4 separate regions of the Homo sapiens genome follow, and regions 1, 3 and 4 are each linked to region 2. The links are contacts of gene promoters, found by promoter capture Hi-C in blood cells and fetal thymus (Javierre and others, 2016). All regions are on one chromosome and are shown on one strand. Each heading gives the region's core, a stretch centred on a gene start or on the middle of the fragment in contact. The rest is flanking DNA. Distances are from core to core; before and after follow the strand shown.

What was found. Contacts are between HindIII fragments. The CHiCAGO score rates a contact against its expected background, and 5 or more counts as called.
Region 1: the fragment with the promoter of ZNF687 here is called in contact with the fragment with the promoter of H2BC21 in region 2 in 1 of 17 cell types (fetal thymus); the score reaches 5.8 in fetal thymus.
Region 3: a contact is called between a fragment that was not itself captured here and the fragment with the promoter of H2BC21 in region 2, in 1 of 17 cell types (non-activated CD4 T cells). The highest score is 5.6, in non-activated CD4 T cells.
Region 4: a fragment that was not itself captured here is called in contact with the fragment with the promoter of H2BC21 in region 2 in 7 of 17 cell types (M1 macrophages, monocytes, neutrophils and 4 more); the score reaches 16.8 in M1 macrophages.

What each region holds. Positions count from the first base shown.
Region 1 is chr1:151,281,002-151,283,701 of GRCh38, forward strand. It overlaps ZNF687 (zinc finger protein 687), which reads left to right and starts at 1,298. Exons shown (of 9, transcript NM_020832.3): 1 at 1,298-1,394. It overlaps ZNF687-AS1 (ZNF687 antisense RNA 1), which reads right to left and starts at 928. Exons shown (of 2, transcript NR_135595.1): 1 at 542-928. RefSeq lists silencers at 178-518, 1,200-1,479, 1,760-1,919 and enhancers at 261-1,145, 640-839, 870-1,099, 1,146-2,031, 2,340-2,409. The HindIII fragment of the contact is 14,019 bases long and covers 906-2,700 here.
Region 2 is chr1:149,885,422-149,888,121 of GRCh38, forward strand. It overlaps H2BC21 (H2B clustered histone 21), which reads right to left and starts at 1,261. Exons shown (of 1, transcript NM_003528.3): 1 at 1-1,261. The coding sequence starts at 1,219. The coding sequence ends at 839. It overlaps H2AC20 (H2A clustered histone 20), which reads left to right and starts at 1,497. Exons shown (of 1, transcript NM_003517.3): 1 at 1,497-1,990. The coding sequence starts at 1,554. The coding sequence ends at 1,943. It overlaps H2AC21 (H2A clustered histone 21), which reads right to left and starts at 2,544. Exons shown (of 1, transcript NM_175065.3): 1 at 2,048-2,544. The coding sequence starts at 2,495. The coding sequence ends at 2,103. RefSeq lists enhancers at 1-457, 235-314, 725-814, 885-1,174, 1,495-1,564 and 3 more. The HindIII fragment of the contact is 10,069 bases long and covers 1-1,463 here.
Region 3 is chr1:151,002,947-151,005,646 of GRCh38, forward strand. The region is part of intron 1 of MINDY1 (MINDY lysine 48 deubiquitinase 1); the gene reads right to left. Among named protein-coding and RNA genes, the nearest start is that of MINDY1, 2.6 kb to the right of the region's middle. The HindIII fragment of the contact is 1,608 bases long and covers 595-2,202 here.
Region 4 is chr1:148,769,921-148,772,646 of GRCh38, forward strand. It overlaps the pseudogene SEC22B3P. Among named protein-coding and RNA genes, the nearest start is that of NUDT4B, 23 kb to the left of the region's middle. RefSeq lists enhancers at 1,879-2,438, 2,439-2,726. The HindIII fragment of the contact is 2,490 bases long and covers 59-2,548 here.

The DNA.
Region 1 (2,700 bases), core at 48-2,547, 1.4 Mb after region 2:
AAAAGTTAGCAGGGCGATTTGGCGCTCACTTGTAGTCCCAGCTACTCAGGAGGCTGAGGCGGGAGGATCACTGGAGCCTGGGAGGTTGAGGCTGCAGTCAGCCGTGATCGCGCCACTGTGCTCCCGCCTGGGCAGCAGAGTGAGGCTCTGCCTCAAAAAAATTAATTAAAAAATAAAAACACGCCGTTAACGAGCGGCTGCGTGCGCGAGGTGGCACACTGGGCTTGCATACGAATTCTGCCAGTGAGTGCTATTAGAGCATCAAGGAGATTCATTTTCCGAGCGACTCCTCCCTTTCCCCCGCCTCCAGGGGGCGTGGCAACAAAGCGCGGGAAAACTCGACCTTGACCCCACCCCCACTCCATGCTGGGGGCGGGGAAAAGGGGAGCCCTTAAATGGGAAATGGAGCTGGCGGTTCCCCCCCCAGCCCATACTTAGGACGCCTATCAGTTGCTCCTTTAATGCCTCTTTGGAAATGGCCCGGCCACGCCAGCACTCCTACGTCACCTCCCCCGCTTCCGGTCCGCGAGCCCTTCCCAACCTTTAGGTCCCGATTCCTTCCATGCTCCAAATCCCGTGCCCCGTCCACGCCCTCCCGCAGAGGGAGGAGCGACGGGTTACGCTGTCGCCCAGGAGCTGAACCGCGCGAGGACCCCATCCATCAGATTATATGGCGATTTAGACGGTGGGAAGACCGCAAGGAAATGGTCAGCGGATGACGTAATGTTTGGGGTGGCGTCCCATTCTGTAACTTCTGTACGGCATCAGTGACACGGGTTTAGCTTGAAACAGCGCAAAAGGACCTACACTTCTGTGCTCCACTCCGACTCAATGCGGTTCTGCTCTCAGTGCCCACCACACAGAAGCTGGGTTCCTTACATTCGCGAAAGTGAACTGCAGCTTCAAGCTTCGAGCGGCCAGTAGGGAGCGAGGGGCGGAGACGCACCTGGGTGCTCCCCCTTCCAGTAGGCAAGCTGGGAAGCAGGCTGGCTTCTTTCTAAGCGACAGTGGCGGAGGCCAATCGTTTACGAGACTCGTAGATGGGGCAGACGGACCCCGGCGCAGCCAATGGGGAGAGGTATCTTCAGAGGGCCTCGGCCCCTTGCCCAATGAGCATAAGAGGACTGTGCGGGGCTAGTTCCGAGCGGCAGTATTTAGGGCCAACCCAGTGCGGGGCTGGAAGGGGCACAGGGCTGAGCGACGGGGGCAAGGGCCAATGGCGAGTGCGAAAACGGGCAGCCCAGACCTGGAGCGCGGAGGGAGGAGAGGGAGTGGGGAGGCCGAACCGGAGAGAAGCAGGAAGTAGCGGCGGCCGCGGGGAGGGCGGCGGTGGCTGCAGCGGCTGGAGCGGGGTAGAGACCGCCGGGTCTCGGCCCGCACCAGGAGCGGAACAAGTAAGCGTGCCTGGGGTAAATACCCGCCCTTGGCTCCGCCCCCTTGGGGGGGGCGGGTAAATACCCCCGCCCCTCCCCCACTTGGTCAACTACCCCCTTCTCCGCGCCGCCCCCTGGGGCGGCTTCTAGGAAGGCCCAGACACCGCCTCCATCCATTGGGGCGGATGGGCGAAACTCCTGGCCTGTTGTAAGCACAGTCCGTAGCCGGGTAAACCCCCAGGAGGGTCGAGAACCCCAGGTCCTGGCGCCCCCGGCTCGAGAGGCACCCGAAGTGCGGCCCGGAGATTGAAGGCTGCGGGATGTCGCGACCTAAAATGGTGTCCGTTCCCGGGGATGGGGGCGGGGGACCTGGGCCAGGCCGGAGCAGAACCTGCACCCCGACTGGGTGCGGGTCAGCGTCCGGGCCCGGGCAAGACTCAGGCTTGCGCCCCCGGCCCCCTGCGCACCCCCCGATCAGTCTCCAGTCTCTAGCGAGCCTCCGGGAGTGCGCGGCGGGAGGAGGCTCCGCTGCGCCCGGAGGGGAGGGGACGAGGTCCGAGTTGGGACGGACCCCAGCTAGAGAGCTGAGAGTCGCGCAGAGACCGTCCCCTCTCTCCTCCCCTCTTTCCAGCTCCCCACCCTATCCTGTGTAGTCCTGGGTCCCCAGGTGCTGCGCAGCAGCTCCCAAAGGGCCTGGCCTGGCTGAGGCCCGGCCTTCGCTTCGCACGCCGGTGCGAGTGAGAGAAGGGCCGCGCGCCTCAGTTTCCCTTGTAGTTTCTCATGTGTACACCCCGCCCCCTCCTCGAAACCCAGGACTTGCTCCCCGCGCCAGCCCTCGGCAGATGGCAGGGACTTAATTCCGTCTGCTACCCAGCTTGGCCTCAACCTAATCGCCGCCAGCCCCTCGCCCTCCTCTGCGCTGCAGGCCTTGGGCCCGGGCAAAGGTCAGTGGAGCCCCCACTCGACCTGGGCCTGTTCAGCCTCTTCCTGTTCAGCCTCTTTGGCTTTTGGGGAACCACAGAGGGAAAGGGGGCGGGGGAGATAGGAGCCCTAGAGACAGGGCTCAGCAGTCGCAGGAAGGCCTGATCCTCCTTGGCTTGAGCTTGGCGGCTTGCTTGGTCGACTGTCTGCTCTGGGTGGGTGGCCATCGGATGACCTCTAAGTCACTGGGGCACCCAAGAGGGAGGTGGCTGGCGGGGTGTGGGGGCGGGTGAGTTCGCAGGTGTTTTCTCCTAGTCCCCGCTGGTCTTCGTTGTAGCAGTCCACTTTTCTGAGTACCTGAGTGGAAGGTAGCTCAGGCCTCTGGTCAGGAGGGAACCAGGCTTAG
Region 2 (2,700 bases), core at 11-2,510:
GAGGCGCGAATTCCTGAGTGGATGACGTAGGTCTCTGAGAGGTGACTTTTGAGCCCGTATCTACATGGTAAGTGCCTCGCAGTGACCTGGGGCCGTAGCGTTACCATTTAAAGCACAGACCATTAAATGCAGAAATTATCAACAAAATGAGAAATAGGAATTTCAAAGTCTCAAAGTGAACGACGGAAACTGAAATCTACAAATTAGAAAAAGGCGCAGAATTTTGAATATTCTTGTCGCCCAATCAGGACAAGGCTGGGACCCGGCTGCGCGGCCTTCGTCCAAAATACACAGAACGGCTGGTATCCACAGGAGGCCCCATCGCACGGCAGAACTGGTGACCGGACACAAAAGCTGCTGCCAAGCGTCAGTCATACAGAGCTGTCACGCAGTGTTTGCGGAACCCGGGCTGAATTGTGTCCTGGAGTTCTCTTAAATGACAGCCGAACTCAGCCACTTCGTTTTAGAATGAAACAGACCCAAGGAGCCACCAGGGCGCGTGTGGGGCGGGAGTGGGGGCGGGTAAAGAGGCGGATTCCCAACAGCCTAATTGAGAACCGACTCCTGGGAAGGCTAAGCAGCACAATGAGTAAAGACACGCTCTAGATTCAAAAGCAAATCCAATGACGCACTGGGGACCTCGAGTTCCAAATAGTTAAAAAGCTACGTATGCCATTTCCCATGACCTTCACACTAAAATAACTTACTTTATGAAAAGAAACTAAGGGAATAAGTGAACAAGCTCTTTTCTAGTGATTAGGTGGGTGGCTCTGAAAAGAGCCTTTGGAGTCAAGCAGCCGGCGACTCGAGCGAGCGAGCGCCAGGTCCCGGCAGGGACTCACTTGGAGCTGGTGTACTTGGTGACCGCCTTGGTGCCCTCGGACACGGCGTGCTTGGCCAGCTCGCCGGGCAGCAGCAGGCGCACGGCCGTCTGGATCTCGCGGGATGTGATGGTGGAGCGCTTGTTGTAGTGCGCCAGGCGGGAAGCCTCTCCCGCGATGCGCTCGAAGATGTCGTTGACGAAGGAGTTCATGATGCCCATGGCCTTGGACGAGATGCCGGTGTCGGGGTGGACCTGCTTCAGCACCTTGTACACGTAGATGGAGTAGCTCTCTTTGCGGCTGCGCTTGCGCTTCTTGCCGTCTTTCTTCTGGGCTTTGGTGACGGCTTTCTTGGAGCCCTTTTTAGGGGCCGGAGCGGATTTTGCCGGTTCAGGCATGGTAAGACACAGTACAAACGCGGCTTAGCCAAGAAAAGAAGTAAGAGAATGGGCGGGCCTGATTCTTTTATAACCACCTTATGCAAATTAGGGCTCCGAAAGTCGTTCATTTCCATTGGTCCGTGTGCGGACCTTGCGTTTTCAGCAATGCGTACGTAACAACACCGACTCTTGACTTGATTGGCCGGTTCTGAAGCCATATTAGGACCAATGAAAAACTCGTTCTTGACCCCACCCCTAGGAAAGCTTATAAAGGCTTTCCTCTTGGTTCTCTTTCAATCTTATTTTGTTGCGAGGTTCTGAGCGTTGTCTGTGTTTAACCTTGATTTCAGTCATGTCTGGTCGTGGCAAACAAGGAGGCAAGGCCCGCGCCAAGGCCAAGTCGCGCTCGTCCCGCGCTGGCCTCCAGTTCCCGGTAGGGCGAGTGCACCGCTTGCTGCGCAAAGGCAACTACGCGGAGCGGGTGGGGGCCGGCGCGCCCGTCTACATGGCGGCGGTCCTCGAGTACCTGACCGCCGAGATCCTGGAGCTGGCGGGCAACGCGGCTCGGGACAACAAGAAGACGCGCATCATCCCTCGTCACCTCCAGCTGGCCATCCGCAACGACGAGGAACTGAACAAGCTGCTGGGCAAAGTCACCATCGCCCAGGGCGGCGTTTTGCCTAACATCCAGGCCGTTCTGTTACCAAAGAAAACCGAAAGCCACAAAGCCAAAAGCAAATAAATGCAGACAAACAAACCAAGACCAAAGGCTCTTTTTAGAGCCACCCAAGTTTTCAAAAAAAGAGCTAATGCGCTATTTCGTGATCAGCCCTTCATTTGACACTTTGGTGGCTCTTAAAAGAGCCTTTGGGGTGAATGAGTATGGTGTCAAGCCTCTTAATTACTTGTTCTTGCCAGGCTTGTGACTCTCCGTTTTCTTGGGCAACAGGACAGCCTGGATATTGGGCAAGACGCCGCCCTGGGCAATGGTGACACCCCCGAGTAACTTGTTGAGCTCTTCGTCATTCCTCACGGCTAGTTGCAGATGGCGAGGGATGATGCGCGTCTTCTTGTTGTCCCGAGCCGCGTTGCCCGCCAGCTCCAGAATTTCCGCGGTCAGGTACTCGAGGACCGCCGCCAGGTACACCGGGGCGCCTGCCCCGACCCGCTCCGCGTAGTTGCCTTTGCGCAGCAAGCGGTGCACTCGCCCCACCGGGAACTGGAGACCAGCGCGGGACGAGCGCGACTTGGCCTTAGCGCGGGCCTTGCCTCCCTGCTTTCCGCGTCCTGACATTACGGCTAAAATTGCAGTTACAGCTTCTTTTACAAGGAGAAGAATGTGGAAAGAATAACCAATTTGATGTAATTTATAAGAGCTACCGGGAGGGGTGAAGGGAAGTCGTTTGATTGGCTAAAAGCGGAGCCGTATCTAACAGCCAATAGAAAAGCAGAAAGCCGCCTCTTGGTTTGCGTCCTGCACTGAAAGGAAATGACGGATT
Region 3 (2,700 bases), core at 149-2,648, 1.1 Mb after region 2:
CACATGGGTGGAGTCAGCTTCCCTGAAACAGATCATGACAGGGAAGGGAGGAAAGACAGAGAGAAAGGGAGAGCACAAAGGAGAAAGAAGGATAAGAGGTGGAGAAAGAAATGTTAAATCTACGCTAATGGTTATTAATATGATGATCTTTAGCTTACTCTAATAGGCATCACATCAGTAACCCCCTCATAGCCATGACAGAGATAATTCCTCTGCCCTACCCCACACCCTGCCCCTTCACACAACATACTAAGAATACACAGTGCTTGTATGTTTAGGGATACCTTCTCTCTGCCTCACCCAAGGATAAAAAGATTAAGTCACATAGTACTTGGGGTGAAGAATGGAGGAGGCACAGAGAGTCAGTTTCATGCCCCTAAAGGTGAAATGCTGGTGAGGAAGGGGAAGTCTTCCACCTCAAAGGGCTCTACTGAACCTTACACAATCCCAAACCACAGTATAAAGGCCTTGGGAGGGGTTTCCTGTAAGCTGGGAGGGGAAATGTAGGTGGTGGGGGCTGGAATCAGAGACTGGTTTTGATAAATAACTTCAGATTAGGGGCACAAAAAGCACTCCCCACAAGTTCTTCCAGTAAGCTTCTCTTTAAAAAAAATTAATAAAGATATCAAATTTCTTTTAATTAAACTGAGACAGGGTCTTGCTTTGTTGCCTAGGCTGGTCTTAACTCCTGGGGGCCCAAGCAATCCGCCCTCCTCAGCCTGCCAAAGGACTGGGATTACAGGCATGAGCCACGGTGCCTGGACCCAGTAAGCATCTCTTGACAGCTAGCATTGAGACAGCAACTTTTCCTCAGTTCATTTTTTTTCCCCAGAAACTACCTAAACCCAGAGGTACTCTCTTGCCTGCTATTTCTATGAAATATGAAAATGCTGATTATTAATTTACATAACAATACTTCCTGTACATTCACCTACCTAAAGTTTTATGTCTATTCCCATCCAAGTGGTTTTATTTATTTATTTTTATTTTTTTGAGACAGAGTTTTGCTCTTGTTGCCTAGGTTGGAGTGCAATGGTGCGACCTCGGCTCACTGCAACCTCTGCCTCCTGGGTTCAAGTGATTCTCCTGCCTCAGCCTCCCGAGTAGCTGGGATTACAGGCATGCAACACCATGCCCAGCTAATTTTGTATTTTTTAGTAGAGATGGAGTTTCTCCATGTTGGTCAGGCTGGTCTTGAACTTCCGACCTCAGGTGATCCTCCCACCTTGGCCTCCCAAAGTGCTGGGATTACAGGCATGAGCCACCGTGCCCAGTCCTCTCCAGGTCATTTTAGATGTGAACACCGGACCTGTTTAACCTGTTCTCTATCAGCACTGGAGGCACATTGAGGCAAGCACAGATAGACATTTAACTAATACTGTGGGTATAAATAATAAAAAACCACAAATCCTGCCCTTTGGAAAACATCTCCCTTCAATCTCCTTGCTCCCCTCCCACTCTTTATCAGGGAGAGAAACAGGGAGAAATTAAACTAGTTAGGGGCCAGGCGCGGTGGCTCACGCCTGTAATCCCAGCACTTTGAGAGGCTGAGGCGGGCAGATTACTTGAGGTCAGGAGATCGAGACCATCCTGGCTAACATGGCAAAACGCTGTCTGTATTGAAAGTACAAAAATTAGCCAGGTGTGTTGGCACGTGCCTGTAGTCACAGCTGCTCGGGAGGCTGAGGTGGGAGAATTGCTTGAACCTGGGAGGCAGGGGGTTGCAGTGAGCTGAGATGGTGACACTGCACTACAGCCTGGGTGACAGAGCGAAACTCCATCTCAAAAATAAAATAAAATAAAATAAAATAAAATAAAATAAAATAAAATAAAATAAAATAAATTAAACTAGTTAGAAATCTTGTCTTTTCTCCACCCTCCTCCCAGCCTGAGACTGCTTCCTTCTTGTAAACCTACAGGAATTTGGGGCTAGGGGAAGGCCTGGGAGATGAGGTTGAGGAACATTAAAGTTACTGAAACAAAATAAGCCTAGTCACTCAAATTGATTATCCTCTTGATTCACATATGTTTATGCTAGCTGCATATCATTTACGTGTTGTTAATTTAGAATCAGAGTAGCAAAAATTGCCTGCAGGCCTTATGCTTTTTTTTCTCTCTCTTTCTCTCTCTCCTTTCCTTCTCCCCTTAAATGACACTTAGGGTGAACCTCAAAGCAGATGCCAGAGCCTGGAAAAGTGAAAAAGCTTGAAGAAAAGCAGGCCTTGGCCGGGCACAGTGCCTCACACCTGTATCCCAGCACTTTGAGAGGCCGAGGCGGGCGGATCACCTGAGGTCAGGAGCTCAAGATCGGCCTGGCTAACATGGCGAAACCCCATCTCTACTAAAAATACAAAAATTAGCCGGGCACGGTGGCGGGCACCTGTAATCCCAGCTACTCAGGAGGCTGAGGCAGGAGAATTGCTTGAACCCCGGAGGTGGAGGTTGCAGTAAGCCAAGATTGTGCCTCTGCACTCCAGCCTGGGTGACAAGAGTGAGACTCTTGCCTCCAAAAAAAAAAAGAAAAAAAGAAAAAAAAAAAAGAAAAGCAGGCCTTATTTTTTATATTTTCTCTCCAGTGCCAGAAATGATCAATGATGAAGTGGGGGTTGGGCAGCTAGCTGGCTGGAGAGGTGAGCCAAAGGAACCCAGGAGTGGACACCTGAGGGAGTGGGGTCTCAGAGGAACTGGGCAGAGCTAAAT
Region 4 (2,726 bases), core at 54-2,553, 1.1 Mb before region 2:
AGAATCCTTTGTAAGGTTTATTTATATAGTGGTGTAAAGAGTACTTACTTCAAAAGCTTTGGTCAGTGTGAGAAATAAGCTCCTAACAAAGAAAGTGTTATGTAATAGTTATTATCTGGTACCTCTGATCACATCATTTTTGAAAATCACTTGAAATCTGCCTAAGTTTCATTCTGCCTTTGATGGCTCCTTATTTTCATCTCCCTACTTCAGGCTTCCTCCCTAATATATCTTTTATGCCAATATTATGATCACTTGAAACTATAAATCTGATGCCATCCTTGGCCACTACCATTAAGATGGTCTAAACTCCTCAGCATGATAGACAAGTCCCTTTATGATAGTGTACCCATCTAGTTCTCATTCCTCAAGTCTCCTCTGTTGTCTATGCTTACCCTATGGGCTAAGCTGAATCAAGCTGTTACATTTCCAAAACATGCCTCACTGTCTTTATTCATGCCTTTGCACATGCCATTGACTCTTCCTAGAATGCCCCATTCTCCTTCTCTAGAAAGTCTTCTCTTAACATACTTCTTCCCAAAATAAATTAGGTGTCCTTTCTTAATATGCCTCCAATAACCCCATACAGTATTTATCCCATTCTATTTTAGATGCCAGTTTGGTTGATGATACATTTCATCTAGTCAGATCTTCCCACTGCCTCTTATAAAGAAAACCAGGAGCCATATTATGATATTCTTGTTCTCTAATTTTTCTGCTGCCCTGATCTTAAACCACTTTCTTCTCCCTTTGTTGACAATTACCCCACCCCTTATTTCTTAATTAGCTCAACAAGATTAGATAGAAATGTATCTACAAAGGATATATGTATATAAATTAACTAGATAACAAAACTTCACACTGAAGTGAACATTCTACAAGTATTTCTTTCATTGCTGACCATTAGGTTGCAGCATGCAACTCTCAACAATGAGCTGCCCCTCTCCACTCCTATAGAAGCTCCAAATACTATGGTACCACTATGTAGGTTTTCAGCCTTTCAAAGGCTTTTATTATGAACTTCATCATTACTTCAGCAGGAGCCTTTTAGGGACTTAAAAGCACTGATTATCTATAAAAAGTAACTTCATATTTCATGCACAAAATTCCCAATTGGCAGATTTAGGTCCATAAAAGAAAGGAAAAAAATTATTCTAGCTATATAAATTATCAGGAATAAAATAGCATTTCTCCTTGCCTTGTTATAAGGAAATAATATATTTTTCCTTACCAGGAATCAGGATAGTATCTTTGATGATCCCTCAGGGTTATAAAATTGCTTACTGGTTAAAGTTTTTTGCCAAAGATATTAAGAAATAAAAAGTTCGCTCATTTTCCTGTGCAATTTAAAGAAATATTTGCAGTATGTACAGGAATTTTAAGTTATATTGCAGACCCTGGCAATAATATTTAAAAGGCCTATTTTCCCCATTAAAAAATTTACCCCATTAAAAAAGGTAAAAGGAAATCTCCATCATCCCTGAGCAGAAAAGGAAAAAATCATGGGTACTTTAATTAGTTAATAGAAACCACTGTAAATGAGTTATCTATCTCCAGAACATTCTCAGAGAATTTACACGAACTAAAACAGGAATGAAGTGCTCTCAGAGACTTTTTCTCAGGTAAATGTATTTAGTAGTTTGAGTAGTTGATCTGCAGAAACTTTAACTTTAATTAACTACATAGATGAATATTTTTTATTTTGAAATTTGAGAATGTCCTAAGAGGATGTCTACAGGATATGAAACTACTGGGTGCAGGAAAATTTTTTAAGTGTTAGCAAATTGTGGCAAGAGGAAAACAAACAGCGGAGAAAACTGTGGTAGAGAAAGTAAAGAAGGGGCAGGAGAAAGCTGTAATTATAACCTGGGCCTGCCTTTGTTCTCATGAAGCCAGGGGCCTCTCCATATCCTATACTTGCTCTTACACTAATAACAAACCAAATGCTGCAAAATAAAAGTAATAATGACCCAAACTAATTTAAGTCTTTTGTTTAAGGAGTAAATGAGAGAAACATTTTAGCTTCTTAATCAAGGAGTGCTATAATTTCAAGGCATCTTAATATAATTCACTTACCCTAAAGCAATTGTGCAATAAGCAAATTATAAAAGGAAAACAACAAAGGTTAACTTTCTACAGGGGCCAATAGACAAGATCTGTGGAGCACAGCAATTAACCTTCACATACTGGAGTCTTGTTTAAAAGGCCATCAAAAACTCAGATTACTGAAAATCACAAATGTCACCAACAAAAGGAATGTTGATTAGAGTCAAAAAAAAACAAAAAAACAAAAAAACAAAAAAAAAAAAACACCTTCCCAAAGGACTGCCTTCTTTGAAGGAATTTCAGAATGTTGCTAGCACAGGTTGACTAAGTTAAATCTCATTGATGGCTCCATCAGAGAATGAGAATGCCCAGCCAGTGCTGTTTTTAAAATGCACTGGGAGGGAAAAAACGAAATAACAATCTACTATTCCCTAATATATATGGCTTGGCACCCAGAGAAAGCCTCTGCCCCCGAAAGAGACTTTCTACATAGGGTTAAGCTTCATTAAATGAGGTGCAACCTTTCATTTTCAGGACATCTCTTTTCTTGCAAGGTCTTTAGAGGCAGAAGTTCCACTTGGATTCTAATACACATCTCTGTGAGCTCAGTTTCCTGAAAATATACACCTACTGGGTTCTAGGTTCTCCCTTACCAGTGACTGTATTCATTATTTCACAGC